Linked DNA regions of Homo sapiens: region 1 is linked to region 2. Evidence: promoter capture Hi-C in human tissues and cell types (Jung and others, 2019). All regions are on one chromosome and are shown on one strand. Each heading gives the region's core, a stretch centred on a gene start or on the middle of the fragment in contact. The rest is flanking DNA. Distances are from core to core; before and after follow the strand shown.

Region 1 (3,892 bases), core at 558-3,057, 290 kb after region 2:
CCTGATGTCATGGCAGTGCCAAGCGATGACCATCCCAAGGCCGTGCTGGGGAGAGGGGGATCATCTTCACCTCTGAACAGCTTTTGTCCCTCATCCTTTCCTTGCCCTTCCAGCCAGGTCTCCTCCACCCCAGGCAACAGCAACCCATTTCCCACATCCCCAGCTCTCAACAGCCTTCACTGAAGCAGAAGCCTCGGTTTGTTGCTACTGTTAGTTCCTGGAACCTGTCTCACTCTCATTTCTTCAGGGTTGATTTTCCAGGAAGCAGTTAGCAGCCTATCCTAGTTTGCCACATAGGTGGGCAGGCAGCTTTCCTTTTCCTTCACGCCTTCAACATATAGCTCAAATTTTTTTTTTTTTTTTGAGACAGGGTTTCGCTCTTGCTGCCCAGGCCTGAGTGCAATGGTGCGATCTCCGCTTACTACAACCTCCGCCTCCCAGGTTCAAATGATTCTCCTGCCTGCCTCAGCCTCCCGAGTAGCTGGGATTACAGGTGCAAGCCACCAGACCTGGCTAATTTTTTGTACTTTTAGTAGGGACGAAGTTTCGCCATGTTGGTCAGGCTGTTTTCCAACTCCGGACCTCAGGTGATCTGCCCCCCTCGGCCTCCCAAAGTGCTGGGATTACAGGCGTGAGCCACCGCGCCCGACCAATATACCTCCAATATTAAGTCTGTTGGGTGTTATTCTTGCCCCTAGACTGTGAGCTTACTCAGGGCTGGGTGGGGTCTGATTCATCTCTGTGCCCTGACCATCAGTCAACTAATATTTCTTGATGTAAGCATCATGAATCAGCCCAGTCATTTCTCTGCTGACCTTCAAACACCAGAGTTTGCCCTGAACACCTTTTGATCTTGGAGCACAGCAGCTGCTGTCCGTTACCCAGGCTAGGACCCCAGCACCAAAACTGTCCATTAATGTAATGGAATGAATTACCATTAATAGGCTGAAGTGGTATGTTAACTTACTCTTCTTTGTATAATTGAGGAAGGAATAATATTCGACTGTTCACGATTGAATGTCTTGTCTTTAGGCAGATCAAGATACTGGCTCCGGTCAAATACTGTGTTTCGACGTGATTGACAGGCGAAGGCTTAAGGAAAAGGAAGAGGAGAAAAAAAGGGGAGGACGATCAAGGAAAAGAGGAGATAAAAGTGGACAACCCAGCCGGGCGCGGTGGCTCACGCCTGCCATCCCAGCACTTTGGGAGGCGGAGGTGGGCGGATCACGAGGTCAGGAGATGGAGACCATCCTGGCTAACACGGTGAAACCCCGTCTCTACTAAAAATACAAAAAATGAGCCGGGCGCGGTGGCGGGCGCCTGTAGTCCCAGCTACTCGGGAGGCTGAGGCAGGAGAATGGTGTGAACCCGGGAGGCGGAGCTTGCAGTGAGCCAAGATCGCCCCACTGCACTCTGGCCTGGGTGAAAGAGCAAGACACCGTCTCAAAAAACAAAAAAAAAGTGGACAACCTGGGGCGGAAAAAGAAGTAGATGAAAAATGGAGGAGCGCTAAGGAGAGGAGAAAACAGAAGTGCCAAGGCAGGAAAGGAGCGAGGAGAGCGGGAACAGAAGGAGACGAAGGATGGACGGAGAGGAAGGGATGGAGGGCGGCAGGCAGGGAGGCAGGGCCCGCAGCGCGCCGGGCCGGTCCACCGCTCTCCAGCGCGGGGGTAAGGGGGCGGGGCCTGGGCAGCTGCGTGCCGGGAGCGACCCCCGCACCGAAGGGCGGATGGTTGTGCCCGGCGACGGCGCCCAATGAGCGGCCAGGATGTTGGAGCGCCGGCGGCGGTCCGGGCGCTCGCTGGCTGAGGGACGGCGGCCGCCGCCATGATGCTTGTTTGCTTTCAATGAAAACGAGGGGGGCGCGGAGGAGGAGGCGGCGGCGTCGGTGGCGGCGGCGACGGCGGCGCGGAGGCGAAGGCAGCGGCGGGCGCAGCGAGGAGGGCGAGGCCGGGGGCCGAGAGGGCGGGAGGGCGTAGTGGCGGCCCGTCGGGGCGGCTGAGGCGGGCAGCCGAAGCAGTGGCTCTCGGAGGGGGAACAAAGAGCAGCGACTAAGGCGGCAGAGGAGCGGCGGCGGTGGCGGCGCTGCAGCAGCGGGCGGGACTGGTATGGTGGTTCCACAGGGCAGACCCCGCTGCACTCACAGGGAGGAGGAGGCGGCAGCGGCGGAGGAAGGCGGCGCACCCCGAGAGGTGAGCGAGGCAGGCCGGAGGCCCGGTCGGGGCGCCGCTCCTCTCTCCGGCCGCGCACGGACCGCCCCCCGTCGGCCGGGCTCGGTCGCGGGCAACTTTCGTTTCGTGGGCGGCGGTCCCGCTGCTCCGCAAGCTGGCGGCTGTTGGGGGCCCCTTCGACGCGCCGCGATCGCGCCCCGCCCCGGGCCGCGCCCCCGGGCCGAGTCCCTGGGAGGGGGGCGTTGATTGACGGCGGCGGCGGCGGCGCGCAGAGGGGAGAGGGTCGGCGCTGGGCTCCCGGATCCCGGCCGGTCCCGGCTGCCGTCGTCGGAGGAGGCGAGTCCGTGTCCCGGGACTCGTGGCCAAGATGGGTGGCAACTTTTGAGAAGCGCCTCTGTGGGTGGCGCGCTGTGTGGAGTGTGGAGCTTCGCGCTCCGTGGCCACAATTACTGTCAAGCGGGAAACCAACTGCTTACCCCCTCCCCTAAAATGTTTTTAAAATTCAGTTTAACGCAGATTTTGAGGGAGAGGACGGGGTGGATTACAGGTTAAAGAAGCACTTGGCATGCAATGAGGATGCTTATTTTATAGTATTGCGAAGGATTCGGAGATTGTACTGGTTTCTACAAGCAGTTTTCTCTGGTAACCCAAATTGCATCCCTCCTTTTTGTTTTTCAGCACTAATCGCTATTTTCTTTGGAAACTTCCTTTGATTCTTTACCTCCTTCACCTTCCCCGAAGAGCCTGCTAACCAACACCTGTGGCCTTCTGTTTTTAACTGTTGTTGCCATTGACAGCGTTGTGAATGGTCATCTCGCTCGAGCTCTTTGGATTTGTTGTTACTGTGTAAGCTGATGTGTTTTAGATAATCTGCTTCAATTTGAGTTCCCATACTTACCTGTTTTCCAGGTGGATTGTCTCATTGTTAGTGCTGAATCTTCTTGCCTACTTGTATCTGGGAATTTAACTTTGAAGAGGAAGAGAGTGAATATGAATAACTGAAAAATAAAATGGTGTGTAGTAGCACTTTGTATTTTTTACAATATACTAGAATTTACTACTCTAGAACAGATTAGTAGGCTGTAGGAGTGGACGTGGGCCATTGATCAAAAGGGTTTAAAGGCTTTTTTGGGGAATTGCTGTTAAGACATTTATCACAGTCTTTATTTAATTTATTTATTGTTTTTGAGACAGGATCTCACTCTGTCACCCAGGCTGGAGTGCAGTGGCACAGTTCTCGGCTCACTGCAGCCTTCGCCTCCTGGGTTCAAGCGATCCTTTTGCCTCACCCTCCTGACTAGCTGGGACTACCGGCAGACACCACCACGGCTAATTTTTTAATTTTTTGTAGAGCCTTGCTCTGTTGCCCAGGCTGGTCTCCGACTCCAGGGCTCAAGCGATCTTCCTTCCTTGGCCTCCCAAAGTGCTGCAATTACAGGCATGAGCCAACATGCCTGGCCATCACAGTGTTTAGAATGTGATGACTTTTAGAGTAAAATTTAGAATAAAAATTGCTTAATATCTTTAGATCTGTGATCTACTCCAGGTGTTTTGCTTTAAACAAAATACATGAACAGCTGCTAATGAGAAGACAGACCTTTCTAGGTGGAGGTGACTTGCCCATGGTACTGTAATGAGGAGGGAAAGGACCGGGTTTGTGTGCGTGTGAGAGCGCATGAGTGTGCGACCTAATCGCTAGAGGTTTGTTCTTTTGGGAGGAG
Region 2 (3,991 bases), core at 259-2,758:
AAACCGCCTGGGGGCTGCCCAGGACGTCCAGACCCTGTAGCGTCTCAGCTCCAGCTCCGCCCCCTCCTGCCCTCAGGGATCTCACCCGCGCTGTTCCCCCGGGCTACCCGTCCATCACAGGCTGGGCTCCCCGCTCAGGACAGCCTCCCTGACCAGACGAAGGCTCCGCCGCGCCCTGGTCTCCCTCTGCCCCAGTCACCCTACTGCATGTTCTTCCCAGCACGCATAAGATCTTGGCCATGTCCTTGCTTTTGCCTTTGATTTCTTGTTTGGTGTCCCCTCCCACACCAGCTAGTGAGCACTTACGGGGGCAGGCAGCAGGCGGCACACAGTAGGCGCTCAATGAATGTGGCCAGTGAGTGGACAACCCTAGCCCCCCTCCACCGGTCGCCTGCACAGTGGCTGCACTATGGCTGTTGGAGCCAGTCTTACCAGAGGTGGGACCCCAGCGTTGCCACTCCATGGTCCCGCCCCTCTCTAAACCTCAGTTACTCCACCTGCCTGGCAGGCAGAGCTTCCCAGGACTCTTCTCAGGCTCCCGGGGCTCAGAACTTCTGTCTCTCCCACAGCCCCAGGAGGCAGGAGATACGGGCCCGGAAGAGCTCCACCAGCACCCCAACTTCCCAGCTCTGTCTTTCCCACAGTTTCCCACGCCCACGCTGAGCATGGGGCGGCGTCGCCAGCACCCTTCCCCAAGTCCCCCCAAGCATCGCTTTCCCAATCTAAATACAATGAGTGGACCAGGTGGTCCCTTGATGCCGTCCGCTGTCACTGCGTGAGGGACACACCCAGGACTCCCAGCAGACCCCACTGTTCTCGCAGGCCCTCTGATAGTGGCGCTGGTCCTTTCCTCAAATCCGATCCCATCCTCAAGGGTGACAGCACCCTCTTCCCCCAGGCGCAAGGCCCTTTCCCTTCTGCACGTGCACCGGCAGGTCTGCTTTCCCGTCCCCATTTCATAGACGGGGAAACTGAGGTCCGGTGCGGGTGGAGGCTTTGGTCTAGGCTGGCTCTTCCTGCCACTCTAGCGGCTGAAAGAAGCTTGCTCCTCGCGCCCAGCAGGGGCTGGCGGCGCGCGGCAGAGCTGGGTCTCCCGCCAGGTGGCCGGGGGTGTGCCCTCAGGGTACCCTACCCGCTACCCCCGCGCCTCCAGTCCCGGCGGCCGCGCGGACCCCGCCCCTGCTGACCCCGGCGCACGCTCCCGCGCCGCGCGCAGCCTCCCGCCTCCCGCCGACCCCGCCGCGCCGCCGGCAGCCCTCCCCAGCCCCCGCGAGCCCGCGCCCTTGCCCGCACCGCCAGGTGTCCCTCGGCCGCGCACCACTCACCGGCTCCCGGCGCGCCGGAACTCCGGGCCCGGCCCATGGGCAGCTCCCGGTGCGAGCCTCGGCGCCGCGGACCGGGGCGCCGCCCGCCGCCGCCGCCGCCGCCGCCGCCGCCGCCGCCGCCGCCCGACCGCCCGGCTCCCAGCGCAGCCCGCACGAGCGCCTGGCGGCGGCCCCGGAGCAACGCGGCGCTGCGCCCCCTCGTGGCACTCAGGCAGCGCGGAGCGGGCGGGGCGCGGGGGTGGAGCTGCGGGAGCCCGCGGGCGGCGCTGCACACCAGGGCCCTCCGTGCCCCGGCCGCGGAGCCAAGCGTCCCGCCCTGCGTTCAGGCCTCCGCGGCGGCTGGCCCCCCGCGCCAGGACCACCCGCTCGGGCCGTCAGACGCTGCCCTCCCGCGCGCGGACCCTGGCGGACTCTGCGCCCCAGCTGCCCCAGCCTACACCTCACCTGGTGGGCCTCTGGCGCCCCAAAACCCAGTTCACCCTCTCTCCTCAAGACTGGGCCCGGCCCGGTTCTCTGGACTGGCCACCTAGGTTGTCTGTGTCCCCCAATGGGACATCCCTGGGTGGACACCCCCCCTCCCCAACCTTCTCGGCGCTCTCCCGTGGCCCCCAGGGAGGGTGGACACCACTTTGAAGACACCGGGGTTCTGGGAGGATGGCGATGCATGATTTCACTTTTAGAAAGGGAGAGGGGCTCTAACAGGATCCAGTGGCCTCCTTGAACTGGGTCTTCAGTGAAAAGTTCCCTGGTTGGTCCCAGCATAGAGGTCAGGACACCTGTCCTCCTGTGTCCGCAGTTTGTCCCTTCCGCTGGGTTCCTGGTCTGGCTGACTTCAAGAATGAGCCAGGGACCTTGGCAGTGAGTGTTACAGCTCTTAAAGGTGGTGCGACGGTGAAACCCTGTCTGTACTAAAAATACAAAAAAATTAGCCAGGTTTGGTGGTGGGCGCTTGTGGTCCCAGCTATTCGGGAGGCTGAGGCAGGAGAAGGGCGTGAACCCGGGGAGGTGGAGCTTGCAGTGAGCAGAGATTGCACCACTGCACTGTAGCCTGGGCGACAGAGCAAGACTCCATCTCAAAAAAAAAAAAAAAGAAAAGAAAAGAAAAAGGTGGTGCAGACCCAAAGAGTGCGTAGCAGCAAAATGTCTTGTGAAGAGCAAGAGAACAAAGCTTCCACAGCAGGGAAAAAGACCACAGCCGGTCGCCGCTGTTGCTGGCTGGCGAGGGGTGGGCGGGCAGCTTTTATTCCCTTATTTGTCCCCACCCATGTCCTGCTGATTGGTCCGTTTCACGGAGTGCTGATTGGTGCGTTTTTACAGAGTGCTGATTGGTGCATTTACAATCCTCTAGCTAGCCAGAAAAGTTCTCCAAGTCCCCACCCGACACGGAAGTTCCAGCTGCCTTCACCTCACTCTGCTTTAGTCAGGACCTGCCTGATGAGATGTGGCCCAAAACTCAACCCAACCAGCTTGAGCAAAAAGCTGGTTTGTGGATCATAAAAAGCCAAGGTTTACTGCTTAGAGGAATGGCTAGATCCAGGTACTTAACCTATGTGCATAGAAACTGGCCTCCCCTATCTCCCAGTCTTTCTGTGGCAGAATGGCCCTGGGTTGACACCTCAGAGAGGGCACAGCTGCCTGATAGTTGCAAGGACAGCCTGCGGCTGCCACACACAGGCTCCGAGGAGCTGAGCTCAGGCCATTTCCAAAGACCTAGGGAGCAGGAATAGCAGGCCTGGGTGTCGTCTCACTAGAGCTGAGGCAGAGTTAGTCCTGTGTCAGCTTTGAGGATGGAGTAAGGTGCTGTTCCAAGCTTCCGTGAAGGCTGTTCCTGGAAGAATGGACAGGTTAAGAACAACAGTCCAGCCCATTTCTTGAACAGTTAGGGAAACTGAGTCCTGGAGAGAGCAGGCAGCTGCCTAGGGCATACAGATGTATTAGAATGAATGTGGGCCAGGTAGCTAGGCAGGGAGACAGCAGGGCTGGGGCCAGGGCCAGGGCCAGAGGCTGGCCCTAGGGAGGGTGACATCTGAGACCAAGGGTCAGGTGTGGGGAAAGGGAGGAGGAACAGAGGCAGGCACTTGGTCAGGGGTGAGCAGTGTGCTCCCAGCAGATAGACAGATGCGCCTCAGGGTGCAGGCACTGGGCCCTCCCTGCATCTTCTCCGATTATCACCCTATGCCCCTAAGCCTCAGGTCCAGTCCCAGGGTGTCGCCTGGAGGAAGCCAGGAGTCTAGGAGGAGAGGCCGCAAGAGGCACCTCAGAAGAGCTGACCCACTCAGCTGTGTTGTTCTGGGGTCTGGGCAGCACTGAGCGGCCCTCCTAACCAAGTGCAGGTCAGGGTGGTGAGGCCAGTCTTTCCCCAGCTCACCCTTGCTCTGTGAGCAAAGGCTGCTGTCCCCTGATAAAGAACTTTCTCCAGCAAGTGGCTGGGGCCACTGAAGCATGATTGCCCTGCTGGGAGCAGGGTAGGGGATGCTTGGATGAGGCCAGGGCAACTGGAACATGGGTGTGGACTAGCTCATGGCCACAGCTCCGTGTCCCACAGGGGTGAGGGTGGCAGAGCTTTGCTCTGGGACAAAGGAGAAGACCGTGTCCCCTGAGGTCTCCTGCGTCCTCTCCCTGCCAGACCCATCGCTGCCGAGAGTTGGGCCTGTGCTGAGGAAGAC

What was found. Contacts are between HindIII fragments. The study calls those that stand out against the background at their distance.
Region 1: the fragment with the promoter of CNOT6 here is called in contact with the fragment with the promoter of RASGEF1C in region 2 in 1 of the 25 tissues and cell types used here (mesendoderm cells).

Annotation. Positions count from the first base shown.
Region 1 is chr5:180,492,572-180,496,463 of GRCh38, forward strand. CNOT6 (CCR4-NOT transcription complex subunit 6) reads left to right here and starts at 1,808. Exons shown (of 12, transcript NM_001370472.1): 1 at 1,808-2,192. RefSeq lists silencers at 1,548-1,747, 1,878-2,017, 2,188-2,287, 2,318-2,577. The HindIII fragment of the contact is 24,631 bases long and covers 1-3,892 here.
Region 2 is chr5:180,207,703-180,211,693 of GRCh38, forward strand. RASGEF1C (RasGEF domain family member 1C) reads right to left here and starts at 1,509. Exons shown (of 14, transcript NM_175062.4): 1 at 1,326-1,509. RefSeq lists an enhancer at 1-300 and a silencer at 1,425-1,644. The HindIII fragment of the contact is 4,624 bases long and covers 1-2,814 here.